2 separate regions of the Homo sapiens genome follow, and region 2 is linked to region 1. The links are contacts of gene promoters, found by promoter capture Hi-C in blood cells and fetal thymus (Javierre and others, 2016). All regions are on one chromosome and are shown on one strand. The core of a region is centred on a gene start or on the middle of the fragment in contact, and the rest is flanking DNA. Distances in the headings are between cores, read along the strand shown. Region 1 holds the start of IL17F (interleukin 17F). Region 2 overlaps TFAP2B (transcription factor AP-2 beta).

Region 1 (6,558 bases), core at 1,483-3,982:
AACTTGATTGGGTTCACCAGCCTATGAGTACCAGTCTGGGGACTCAAACCTAGGTGTCAGTAGTCAGTGCTATTGTCATTGAAGGTCATTTTTATTATTACCAACATTAATCTTAGTTTTGTCTCATTAGAAGAGCTAAGTGTTTTAGGTAATGTGACAGCTGTACTAGATGTGCATAAGTGTTGTAGGTCACATAGCTCGTTATCAGGAAATCAGATGATGTCTGCAAATACTCCAATTTGCTCCACAAAGCTTTTGATCTGAAACTGTAGATTTTAGTGGTTATGTAATACAGAGCAGGGGCTCTGAACCAGGCTGTTGCTGGTTCTTAAGAATGATTTAAACAGCACCTCTCAGAGAAATCCAGAGCATGACTTGAACTCTTATATGCCACCTATAAAGCAGATGAATAGATATCGCTCTCAATCTGTATAATAGGGGACAGGGGCAAGGGAAAGCACCAGGTGAAGGTGAGCTGTAACAGGACAACAACCTTCTCAGCCTAGCTTTGCACCTCACTCTAATGTGAGCTCACCTGAGCAACCTGAACATCCATCCTCTATACTCACCAGCAATGTGTGGACACATGTAAGCATGCACCTGGCCAACCTCTAGGTCCATGAGAATTTGCCTCAACTACTTATTGAAGATGTCCTATCTGCCTGCACCTCTCAACTTCTAATCCTATTCCAATGCTCCTTGCACTGTTATGTTTCTTGCTGACAACCCAACAGATTTCTTTAAGGAAACTAGAATTAGAAATAGCTATGGAGCACAAAGCTACCCAACAGAATTGCTTGGATGCAATGGCTTTAAATTCACAAATCTTGCCTCTGAACCAAAGAAAAGCATACTGTATGTGGAGACAGAAAGCTTAGATTGGTGTACCAGTTCTTGTGCTTACAGTATCCAGCAATGTTAAATAAATAGCTTAATTGAGCTTTTGTTCATCTGTATAAAGTGGAAAGTATTCCCATCTACTTCAGTGGATTGATCAGAATTTCCAGGACAATAATAACAATATTAATATGAACAGTTAACACTTACTGAATGCTTTCTCTATCATTATCAGTCGTTGTTTATTAGAATGGCCAAATTAACTGAAAATTAAGCATACACAAATCTGCCAGTACAGAGTATAGACTCATTTATTCTCAAAGATATTAATTAATCCTCCCAATAAATGCCATGAGAAAGATGCCATTGTTATCCCCACCATACAGTTGAGGAAACGGAGGCACAGAGAAGATAAATAACTTACCCAAAAATCCTACATTTAGCAAGCAGTGGAGCCAGGTCTGCCTGACATCAAAGCCTATGCCCCTAAATATGGCACTTTGCTGAGCTACATGTAATCTTTAAAATAACACATAAATATAAAATAAAACATACCATTGCTATATGCCATGAACCTTTTATGATATTCAAGCTCTTTTAAGTTGTATGGCTTGTAAAAGGAGAAAAAAAGGAAATTATCTAAGCCAATAATATGATGCGGGATTTCCTAACCCCTGTTTTCATGTACCTCTATAGTAAATTCTTCTCAGGCCTTATCTGACTAATGTCAGGCAAGATTCCAGACCTGCTGGGGCTAGATTTTCATTGCATTAACATCTCTCTTTCCTCCAAGAAGAATGAGATGGTACAAAATAAATAAATAGCAATCAGAGACATGGGAAATTTCCCTTCTCTAGGAGCTGTCCAAAGTCAACACTGGGTGATTTCATTTCTTCCATCCAGGGCACTCCTGTAATCTCAGGGGAATCATTAAACCTCTTGAGGCCCCAGTTTCCTTGGTTAAAATGTATATGTACATAATCCCTAAAGTGCTGGCCAAGCTCCCACCATGAGATAAGAATTTCAGGCCAACCTGACTCTATAATGGATGGCCACAGGAAAGAACATGCTAGTTGTCTGTGATGCCAAGGACTGCACACACTAACACCACCTGGGCACACACTAACACCACCTGGGCAAAAGCCATTGGGTGAGGAGCTGCATTTTTTTTTCTTTGAGACAGAGTCTCGCTATGTCACCCAGGATGGAGTGCAGTGGCGTGATCTTGGCTCATTGCAACCTCCGCCTCCCAGGTTCAAGCCATTCTCCTGCCTCAGCCTCCCGAGTAGCTGGGATTACAGGCAACTGACCCATGCCCAGCTAATTTTTGTATTTTTAGTAGAGACAGGGTTTCAAGTTAGTCAGGCTGGTCTCAAACCCCTGACCTCAAGTGATCCACCCACCTCAGCCTCTCAAAGTGCTGGGATTACAGGCGTGAGCCACCAGGCTCGACCTAATTTCTGTATTTTTAGTAGAGACCGGGTTTCGCTATGTTGGTCAGGCTGGTCTCGAACTCCTGAACTCATGTGACCCGCCCGCCTTGGCCTCCTAAAGTGCTGGGATTACAGGCATGAGCCACCACGCCTGGCCAGGAGCTGCATTTTTATGCCATTATAACTTTTCTAGTTATTTTTTTCTTTTTCTCCACCAGACAGGAGTCAAAATTAAAGTCATCTCTGTTTTTTAAGAAGTAATTCCAAAAAGACCCCAATCAAACCTAATTCCTTAGGATTCTGTTTTCTGAAATCCTAGGCATGACAGTCCTTAAACCAGAATGATTGCTGCTACTCACCATGGCTGGGCCATGCAGGGTCTTCACTGTCATGTTGCGCTGGTGGCTTACTTTGTGCAGGAAGCTCTTTCTGTGAATGTATCTTCCTGTGTATGCCTGTGTTCTATCAATGAGAGTACCTGTTAGTTTTATAGCAATCATTGCCCCTGTTTCGATTGACCTGCTTACTGTCTTTAAGTTGTGGTTGACCCGGAGTTACTGACGAATGCAGGGGTTTTTTTTTTTATTCCATTTCCCGAAGGGGAACAAAAGGGGGACCCTAAAGAAAGGGATGACAGGAAAAGGACCAAATTTTTCTTTCCTTCTACCCTACTTCCACCCCCATTGCCCACAAATCAGAGCAAAATTTTTAATTTACTACAGAGATGAACCAAGTTAGAAATTGTTGTCAAATCTTTTTTGTTCTTCCACAAATTGCCAACACCCTTGTCACGGACCATATGTTCTACTTTCCAGTCACGCAATATGAATCGTGATTTAAATGGGAGAAAACTCATCCTTAGAGGAGCCTTGGTACTAAACTATCTTTACCTCCATTTTATGAATGGGAAAACAAAACTAAAGAAATGAATGACATAAGTGAAAAATTCAGAAATGATATACCCTGGTAGTTTTGTTATCTCCCTGAACTAATTATTTTTTAACCCCATGGTTAGACTCCTACTGGTGCTTAATAAATAATCACTATTCATTGTGTTGATAAAACAAACTGTTTTCCTCTGCTCTCACACCACAACCAGCAACACAAAAGATTTCCATGACCATGTATGTGGGCATTTATCTCCATCAACCAGCAAGCAATCAATTCTGCATCCAACGCCAGCTAAGCATCTTCTAATCCAATTCAATTCTGACGCTATCTCCAGGTAGGTAGAGTCAGATCCCACAGGCTGAAGGCTCAGTCCCACAAAACTGCTCCCACTTTAAGCACCAATCACAGGTCCAAGCCTCTGGGACTTCTGACTGACTGGCCTCAAGTTCAGGTTCCCACAAACCGCTTGAGTTTGATTAGGCTTGATTAATTTGTTAGAACAGCTCACAAAACTTAGGGAACACTAATTTATATTTACCAGTATATTCTAAAGGATATTTTTAAGGATACAAGTCAACAGCCAGATGAAAAGGTACACAGGGCAAGGTTTGAAAGGGTCACAAGCACAGAAGTGTTCTTTCCCATGGAGCTGGGGTGCACCACCCTCCCAGCACAGGGATGAGTTACTGTTTACCTTTCTTAGAACTTCCACAAGTTCAGCGGTCCAAAGGCTCTTTGTATCCCATCCTCTTGGGCCTTTTATGGAGTCTTCATTGGGCAGACATGATTACAACATGGAAAACTGTAAACAAATGTGATTGGATAAAAAGGGTATAACCTGATATTAACAGGTTGAATGAGGAAATTCAGCCAGGCCTGCCTGTTCAGATTTTTCTTGGCCTCTCTGAGCAGCCTTCCTTCCTCCTGGGTAGAGGGGAGGACCCTTCCTGAATTGAGGGTCTTATGGCCTATGATTAGACAAGGTAAATCAAAGAATTTCTTTATGGCCAGCTCCAAGACAAAAGGTGTGGGGGGTGATGTTAGATGACAGGATATTTTCTGTTTCTATGGTCTTGGGGAGAAAAGGTGGGCAGGAGAAGTTCAGAGAGGGAGATTCTTTTTTCTGAGGCCTATTTCTTAGGCCTAAAGTGCCCCAACATTACAATAAAAGACTGTCTTTTTCACCTTTATTGCTCTGAAGCTGTCTGAAGCTGCTTCAGGAAACAAAGACAAAAAAGCTAAATACCCTAACAAAAGATATGCTTATTATTTTTATCACTTAGGATATAACGAGGGCTGTGGGAGTTATGAACCAGGAGCCATGGACAAATATACATATATGTAAAATCACATTGATGCAACACTTAAATGCCCATTACCTTGGCTATCTCTAAGAATGGTTTTTTTTAACCAAAATTAATTAGCAAGTAGAAGCCTTTAAATGCAAGATTGGCAGCCCTGGCACTGCAGCTGGGGCAGCAGAGCCAGGACGGCCCAGGAACTGACAGACTGAGGGATAGGCAGACTGACCATAGCCGACCAGCCAAAGCCCATCAGCCTGCTCAAGAACCTGCTGGCCAGTGGCTTTGGTGGCATGTGCCTGGTGTTCATGGGGCACCCTCTGGACACTGTCAAGGTCCGACTGCAGACACAGCCACCGAGTTTGCCTAGACAGCCTCCCATGTACTCTGGGACCTTTGACTCTCTCCCAAAGACTCTTAGAAGGGACATCACAGGGCTATATAAGGGAATGGCTGCCCCTATCATCGGTGTCACCCCCATCTTTGCTGTGTGCTTCTTTGGGTTTGGTTTGAGGAAGAAACTATGACAGAAACACCCAGAAGATGTGCTCAGCTATCCCCAGCTGTTTGCAGCTGGGATGTTATCTGGTACATTCACCACAGGCATCGCGACCCCTGGAGAACCCATCAAGTCCTTGTTACACTTTCAGCCTTCTTCAGGGGAAACCAAGTACACTGGAACCTTGGACTGTGCAAAGAAGTTGTACCAGGAGTTTCAGATCCGAGGCATCTACAAAGGGACCGTGCTTACCCTTATGTGAGACGTTCCAGCTAGCGGAACGTATTTCATGACAAATGAATGGCTAAAAAATATCTTCACTCCGGAAGGAAAGAGGGTCTGTGAGCTCAGTGTGCCTTGAATCCTGGTGGCTGGGTGCATTGCAGGGATCTTCAACTGGGCAATGGCAGTCCCGCAAGATGTGCTCAAGTATCCCTTCCAGACGCACCTCCTGGGAAATATCCTAACAGTTTTGGAGATGTGCTGAGGGAGCTGATCTGGGATGAAGGAATCACATCCTTGTCTAAAGGGTCTGATGCAGTGATGACCCGAGCCTTCCCAGCCAATGCAGCCTGTTTCCTTGGCCTTGAAGTTGCCATGAAGTTTCTTAATTGGGCCACCCCCAACTTGTGAGGCAGAAGGCTGCTCAAGACTTCTGGATGCTGGAACTGTTGCTGAGAAGGAAGAGTAGTGGGCAGAACTAAGCAGACTTGGAGAATGAGGGGAGGAGACGGTGGGATCAGAGCTCTGCGCATGGACTTGGTGAGACTGTTGCCTTAATGACATCCTCTACCTTGTATAAGTTGGTGTGTCATTTCGCAACTTGAATTCATTCTTGTCAATGTAAGGGACCTTAAGAGGATTTGGAGATCTAGTAGTTTCTAGACCAGATACTACCTGTGGCAAGAATACTGCCTACCAGTTGACGGTTGGCCCTACCACACCCAAAGTGTTTCTCATTAAAGAGGTAATCTCAGCTTCTCACTGGAGGCACTTTGGATGCTTTCAACCAGCTGACCAGGGGCTGAGATCATCTTCAATCCCTAGCCAGGAACACCCACTTGATTTCCAGGGTACCACCTAATCCTGGGCTGCACATGGGGATTTGGACTTGAGCCCCACATCTGTGTCCAACTGGACTGGGCATATATGCTTAGGAAGAGATAACCTATTAGCTATTGATTTTTGCTTTTTTTTTTTTACACAAGTAATCAAAAGTAAAACTAGAGTAGAGTAGCCTAATTTCCCAAGAATGGGTGAAAAACTTTCCTTTCTACACAGTGAGGACAGTCCCAGCCTGCTGGGATAAGTGAGAAAACCCAGGGTGAAGGAAGGCTCTTTCTGCACAATCTTTTCTCATGAGAGCGCCATATTTTTGTTTCCAATTTTTGAAGGAAAAAAATTAAGCGTTTAAATGCTCTGACATGAAATTTAAATGACCTGCAAAAAGTTAATTTGTCTCAGTTCAGTTCAGGTTGTCAAACATTTGTTAAACACATTCTATGTGTCAGGCATTGTGCCCTAGAGATACACAGACATTCCCCAAAAAACAGTAACTTATCTTTTTTTACATTCATTAAGATTGGGTAAAATTACA
Region 2 (7,406 bases), core at 663-3,162, 1.4 Mb before region 1:
TTTATTTATTTTTTCATTGTGCCAAATTTGTTGCTAAATATGCGCATCCTGAGAAGCTGAGACAGCCTATGCACATTTCTAAATCTTCCTACATATGCATTCATGATTTAGTGTGACTGTGGAATCACCCCATACTGTTAAAGGGCATGTGATATTAACAAATGTTTGCAGTCTCTTGTACAGCTGTAAGCAAAATAATTAACTAATTAAACTAATTAAATGTAATTACAATAACTCATTTTGGGTGTATTGCAGCTGCTTAATTTTTTCTGCTTTTCTCTGACAGTCACTGAGAGAATGCCTGGCGATTAGTGTAGCTGCTAAAAGGCCTGAATGTCACTCAAATGCCACAAATTTAGGAGTTTAAATGTGTAAACAGTGCAATCTTTAATTATCACAGGAACTGGCATTTGACGATACAATTTTAATACTGTAACCCTTTCTCATGGATGTCGAAGAAATTCTGTCTCTATATTTAGTGTCAACAATCCTCAGCTTTCAATCATTTATGATTCACTTGAGCCACTTGACATTCAACAAAAACAATTAAAAGAAAAAATTCTTTGGGAAGTAATTCATCCAGACTCAAATGGGATAGTAGGAGGGTTGTGGAATAAGGATTCCAAACAGGGTGAGGTATTCTAAATTGTCTTCTTTTACAAAGTCAGGAAGAGTAGCTTTGAAAGGTGGGTGGGGGAAGCTGTACTTGCAATGATGCCATTTGGCCTTGGAATGAATATCCTAAAGTATAGTAAGGTTTGGGGCATAACTATTTATTTTAGTGGTTGCTTCAAACATCTCTCTCTCTCTCTCTCTCATCTTCAAATAATATTGTTTTGGCTTTTAATGCCAGCTTTTGGGTTTGCTAGGATACCCAGGCTCGGTGCTTAAATTTGCAACTGTGCTGACTGACAGCTCACTTTTCCTGTTTTCTCTTGGGTCTCCTCTTTCGGTTAATTGCTGGTTGATTAGGGTGGGGTCGGGGAGGAGCTTCTCCATTGGCTTTTTTCAGTTTGTTTTAGTTCCTCCTCCCTTTTCATGGAAAGCTAGAACCACTTAGCTCAGGGTTCTGTATCCTAGCAACATCATTTGGGCTGGCAGGGGAACATGCCCAACAGATGACCAATCAGAAATGTTATTAATAGCCAGTCCAATAAAAATATTTGTAACTTAGCTTGCCTAGCAAAACAGAGCTGAAGATTTTCTTAGATGTGGGATGCTTTGGTTTCAGAGCTTGTATATGTTTGTCAGTGAAATGTGAATATTTATGTGCAAGGTTGTCTCCAGGAATAAGAAAAAGAGAATAATGACTAAAGTTGATGGTTCTGTTTTTGGAAACAGAAGAGTACATTTTATGTCCCCCCAAATGTACAGCTTTTTAAAAAATGTGCAGCTTAAAATATTTAAGTAGCATCCCAGTTACTTTAATTGATTCAGAGGGTGTGGTATGAATATGATGAAATGGTAGGTCAGTTGCATTATTTAATATTTGACATATTTGCTTTATTACATGAAGAAAAGATCCTATGTCTTTTTTCTTTAGAGAGCCATAGGCAAAATAAGAATACGAGGTTGATTTACTTTTCTAACTCAGTATAAGCCACTTAAAGTTGTGGTGAGTTCATTAGCCCCTTCCCCTGCACCCTAGTCTCTTTGCTCACCATCTCCCCAATTATGAGAGATGTTTCCAAGAGATGAATTTTGTAAAAGAGGTGAGAAAGTCTTGTGAACTAAATATTCTAAATTTCAACACCTAGAAGAAGGCTTAGTTTCTTAATATATTTTCTAATGGGCTTTTAGGCAGATAAAAAAAAATTCTACCTCATTAGTAACAGATTGGCAAGTGGTCTAGGTTTGGGGGTCTCTGAGTCTGTGTTTATGAAGCTAGAAGACTTAGGCATAAATGATGCATGTCTCTATCTCTATGTCTCTTTCTCCAGTTATGGTAAGGCCCCTTCTAAAATTTAACCAATCTAATTTTTCACCTGTGTTTATGTCACCCCATAGATTATGGGCTCCCTCTCTTGTTATGTTTGCTATCTGGGCTTAGCTGACATTTCTGAAGTAATTTAGTTAAGAGGAAATGAGTTGTTCCCAGTAGAGAGAGCAAACGAGTGGAGTGAAGGTAGCCAGCGTGATAAATGGCTCTTTCATTTGAAGATCTCCAGAGCTCGTTTACGGCTAATTTTCTGTATTGGCCCCCTTTGAGCTATTAATGCAATCTGCAGGGACCGTGGCCCCTCTCCTCTTAGCTGCCCCATTAGAGCTCCCATTAAGCTGCCTAGTCTCAACTCCATGGCGGGAGTGGGCGGGGGGAGTAATGAAAGGTGCTTTTTAAACTCTCCTAATCTAAACCGGCAGAGGGTGGTTAATACGATTTGAAGGGGGCTGGTCAATGAGCAATCAATAAAGTAATAATGAGAAGGATTCGGTACATTAACAGTCTAAAAATCCAACGAGACATTAAAAAATCATTCTTAACTCTCAGTTCCATTAAGATTAGAAATCTGGGGGGAGGAAGAGGGTGTACCCAGCTAATAAAAATGATCACTGCCACCATCATGTTGCTTAACTCAAAAAAAGGCTCACCTAAACTTTAAGAAAAAGTTTTTGGTGCAATAAGAAGCCAATATGCAATCTGTTTAACACCTTAGACAGCAGAAAATATTCTGGGATTTCTTGGAAAGGCTAGCGTGGCTGGAATCCAAGGTTCAAATGTTGTGACTGTGGGGCATTTTCATTGGTCTTAGGGATATCCTGTTTGGTTAGTTTCAGTTCATCCTCCATTCTCTCCCACTTTCTTTCCCGTTAGTTCTGGCCCCTTCCCCACATAAACACTTTGACTGGTGTGGATTTTCTTTCATGGGAAATAAAGAAATTGCCAAATTTCTATTACAATTGATTCTGTTGGGATTCTTCTGACCTAGAAGGTAAAATGCTCTGAGAGTCTGTCAGAGTCTCTGAACGGTATGAGTTTCCTCTCAAAAGGAAGAAGTTCCCATTTCCAGGTTGGACTTGGATCCCAATAGCTATTTATCAACTAGAGACCCTGAGAAACACTGCAGCCACTCTTTCAAAGTCAGGTAGGTTAGACATTCTTCTTCAACACTCCAAGTGCTGAAACTGAGAGAGACAATAAATGACTTTCTCAAGGTCCTATACACCATGTAAGTGATGAGACTCAACTCAGTTTCCAGCCTTTTAGCCTTCTAGACTCTGTCCCTATAAGATGCCAATACTGGATGTTTGAGTTTTTTAATATCCCTGCTTTATTTGTGGAAATTATTTTTTTCCCCACAATTTCAGTCCCCACACTTATACATGCACTATAGTTGTGGAATAAAATTTTACACTCAGGTACATGAGGAAGTGTTTAGATCTGAGGAAAGGGTGCTTTGCTGGTGAGAAAAAGAGTGCTAACTTTTAGGGGCCACTTTGAGTCAGTGCTAAGCCTCCTGGTTGTTTCCCAATGTCATTTACATCTTTAGGTCAAGAGTGCCTTTCGAAGGTACTTACCTTATGAATCTATAAGATAGGTTCATTTCTTCCCTTCTCCTCACCAGCAGATAGAATCAAATACAAAGTTCTCAAAACTATAATTTCACACTTAAGTTTAAAGAGTAGAGATTAAAAACTAGCCTATTAACACTTTAGCTCTTCTATAGTCAACTAATGAATAGTATTTTCTCTAATCATTTTTCTTTCCTCTCTTTTAAATAAAACTCCAGCCATGTTAATGAAATATTGATCTGTTTTTAGCCTTTTTTTACTTCTCCCCAGCATAATGCAGCAAAAAAGGGAGGGGAATGAGTTTTGTGGGTGTTACATCCAGAACTTGGCCTTGACACCCAACTGGGAACTGAAGAGGAAAAAAATACTTCTAATGTATGCACAGAAAATTGTAAACATGTAAAGAACTGAAAGCTTCATGCTGAGTTTTGCCATGCCCCATTTCCTTACTATTTCCTGCTGTCGCTTTAAACCTATCTCAGTCATCTCTGGGTTCCATGAGCAGGAACAGTGTGCTCATAATTACTAACAAATCAACCAGGCCCTGTTGAGCTCTGGGTTTATTGATAAACTGGAAGAAAGCAGAAGGGAAAAGACAAAGAAAGTAAAATATGGGGTTAATCAGGTGAACTAAGCAGGTGTGAAAGTGGAAGGGAAAGTAGATTATGATGGAGTTATGGATCTAAAGGAAAGTTGGGACAAGAAATGTGTCAGATCTGGTCTAGGGGACCAATACTAAGGAGAGAGGTTTAGAACATGAGGATAGGAGGCTGGGAACACAATTGTGATACTTAAATTAGAAAATGGAAATATAGTCCAAAGCACATCTTCTGACATTGTCCTTGCTTTGACTGGAAGGGGAAAAAACAAAAACAAAAACAAAAACAAAAACCTTCCCAGAGAGGGCAGTGTACTGACAGAAGCTGATTGGATTGGGGGTATGCAGGTGATAATGTATATGCAGAAAGGTACTCAACCCATGGCAGGGAGCAATATACATTCCCCAAAGGAAATAGCTCTTGTCGGGTGAATCAGGCAATTAACAATAGTGAAATTACAGGGTGGTTTATAACATTTCTTTAAAGGCCCGGCTTTTCCAGAGGTTTAGCTTCTGGGACAGGGAGAAGCAGGTAAGATTCCAATACTCAGTGGGTATTTGGTTATCCACTGTGGGAAGCAGGAAGTGAATTTAGTACTTTCAGCTTAGTGGAGTTGGTTGTTATTTAAAAAAATATTCTAAATAGTATTTAGAGATAAATATGTTGCTAAGTATAGAGGTGAGATTTTTATCTAATTTATTTCTATAATTCATATCATGTTAAAATTACAAAGGGCCATCTATATTTTGGAAAATAAGTTTTTCCAAGTTTTCATAATGCCAACTCCCATGATTGTCAATTATTTGTTTTTAATGCCTTCACTATGAGTCTGAATTATGGAAATCAGCACTGTTGTGAAGAGTAAGATAGACTGAAATAGATGCCCCCACCAATCACCTGTCTATTAAGTGACTTTAACTTCACATCTCACTCAAATCTGATTAACATTCACACTTCAACTTTTCATTGATTCATTCTTAAATGGGAAGCAGATTCACTGATGAGAAAATGAGGGAAATCAAAAAGAAGGAACACCTCTCTATATCCCCTGTCCCCGCCCCATGACAGGGCAGAATATTTACTCTGTTGCCAACATCAATTCATCCATCTGGGACAAGGTCTTGGGCTCTGTGGACAGATCCATAGATCCTAAAATGCCTACTGGGTAGTAGCAGAAGGGAATGTTTTAGTCTCCTCATCCACTCTTGTAATAAAGCTCTTTTCCACAAGGTGTTTGTAAAGGATCTAATGAAATTCATAGTAAATAAAAGATTTGGGAGCAACCTGGCTTCTAGGAGTCTCTAAACAACTATGGAGGTTTGTATACTGGAATCTGTGGTAGAGAGAATAAACTGTTAGAGAAATACACAGTATTGGTTAGTCTGTTCCATAGAAGGGATGTTATGCATCTTGTTTGATATATAGGGTTCTAGGCTCCAGACGACAGAAACAGCCTATCTTTTCCCCACACAATTACAAAGTGAGATAGACTTTATCAAATAGGTAGGGTTGGAAACCTCTTTTTTCACACCAGATGCATGTTTCCAAAGATTTTTTGGACTGGTGATCGACAAATACCATGAAGATTTGGAGGCCTCATATCCCAGTGGAAGAAGCAAAGTTACAGGGAAAGTCAGGAGGTATAGCCACCTGTTTAGGGGCCTGTAAAACCTACATAAAGAAAATGGGCTTAAGCAGTGAAGTCCAAGGGAAAATACTGCCAGGGAACTGGGAGATGGACTGTTCCTCATTCCCAGCCTTCTGGTTCCACTGAGCCTAGCCTCTTTCTGACATGCAGATGACACTGAAACACAATTAAGCAGAAATACAGGCTGGAGAGGCTGAATGCACCAGGGTAGCAGTGGCAACCAGCTGTCAACTCTTATTAACTTCTGCATAAAACATACCTTGAGTGCGGTTTGTTATCAATTACTTGCCGAAAAGAAACAACTGGGGCAAGGCAAGACCGCCGCTCATATGAATTAGAGTGATTGGTTGATTGATCAGGGCACCTGTTGTAAATCATAACTGTTCCAAACAATCACTAGCCGGTGCTTTAATTTGTAAACAAAATTCATGTCACTGCAGAATTGCTTTCACTGAAGATGAGCATTTGGGTTCCTTTCTAAATGAATCTGTTGTTATTATGTAGGGAAGAATGGGGCCCACTTTAAAGAGATGAGCAGCTGTTTTGGGCCCAGCTCCCCAGCTCAATGGTATTATTTGTCTGTTCTTGGGCATAGTATCTGATGGGGTCCACCCTCCTTATCCTTTCTAGTGATGACCATAGATCTGGGTCCAATAGGAAAGGAGGAAGGGGTTTCCATTGGAATTACCATTTTATATCACCGCATGGTGATAATCACCGTCAGGCTTCAGCACCAAATGAGATAGGCATTATTATCCTCAGGAGACAGATAAGGAAACTGAGGAGGTTCAGACAGAGTCAGTCAGGTGTCTAAGGTCACAGAGTTAGCACACGATGGAATAAGATTTGCCTGGTTCCCAGCACAGTCCAAACTCTGGGTTGTTTGATTTCTTGATTTGGGTAGTGAGCAGGACTGTAGCAAATGACACTCATATGTCTACACACGAAGTAAGTTTCCAGAGGAGGTATGGCTTTGCCATCTGTTTGTTTACAGCTCTCTGAACGCACTGCAGCCCCACTGGAATAAACACTTCCTCCCTCAGCTTTCCACTTGGTGTCTGTCCTGTGGCCTCACACAGAGACACATTCTATCAGCCGGTCATCAGGATCGAAACTTGGTCACCTTTATGGCAATTTTTTCTCTCTTTCTAGTTCCAGTTCCTCCCAAATCGGTGACTTCTCTAATGATGAATAAAGACGGCTTCCTGGGAGGCATGTCTGTCAACACCGGCGAGGTGTTTTGCTCCGTCCCAGGCCGTTTGTCTCTGCTCAGTTCAACTTCGAAGTACAAAGTAACTGTGGGAGAAGTTCAGAGACGGCTGTCGCCCCCTGAATGCCTCAATGCATCTCTCCTCGGCGGAGTCCTCAGAAGGTAACCCCACCACGAAAAACAAAAACAAAAACAAAAAAACAAACAAAAACCCACCAGTTTTTATTTATTGGACAGTGAGGAGAAGGTTCCAGCAAAACCCAATCTGCAGTCTGACGCAGTTGCCTAGCAACCGGGTGGCCGGAGCATTGCTTTCGCGCAGCGCTTGGGAGGATCCGCGGCCGCCACCTGCTCGCCCACAAACTCTAGTGTCCTTGCATCCAGGCCTGCCCGCGCCGCGCAAGTCCTACCGCAGATTTTGCCGCCCTGGGAACCTTTC

Evidence for each region. The method cuts DNA at HindIII sites, captures the fragments that hold promoters and counts their contacts. A CHiCAGO score of 5 or more calls a contact.
Region 2: a contact is called between a fragment that was not itself captured here and the fragment with the promoter of IL17F in region 1, in 1 of 17 cell types (neutrophils). The highest score is 8.5, in neutrophils.

What each region holds. Positions count from the first base shown.
Region 1 is chr6:52,241,768-52,248,325 of GRCh38, forward strand. It overlaps IL17F (interleukin 17F), which reads right to left and starts at 2,733. Exons shown (of 3, transcript NM_052872.4): 1 at 2,630-2,733. The coding sequence starts at 2,662. It also overlaps the pseudogene SLC25A20P1. The HindIII fragment of the contact is 13,260 bases long and covers 872-6,558 here.
Region 2 is chr6:50,829,152-50,836,557 of GRCh38, forward strand. It overlaps TFAP2B (transcription factor AP-2 beta), which reads left to right. Exons shown (of 7, transcript NM_003221.4): 4 at 6,910-7,129. Among named protein-coding and RNA genes, the nearest start is that of TFAP2B, 14 kb to the left of the region's middle. The HindIII fragment of the contact is 4,019 bases long and covers 1-3,922 here.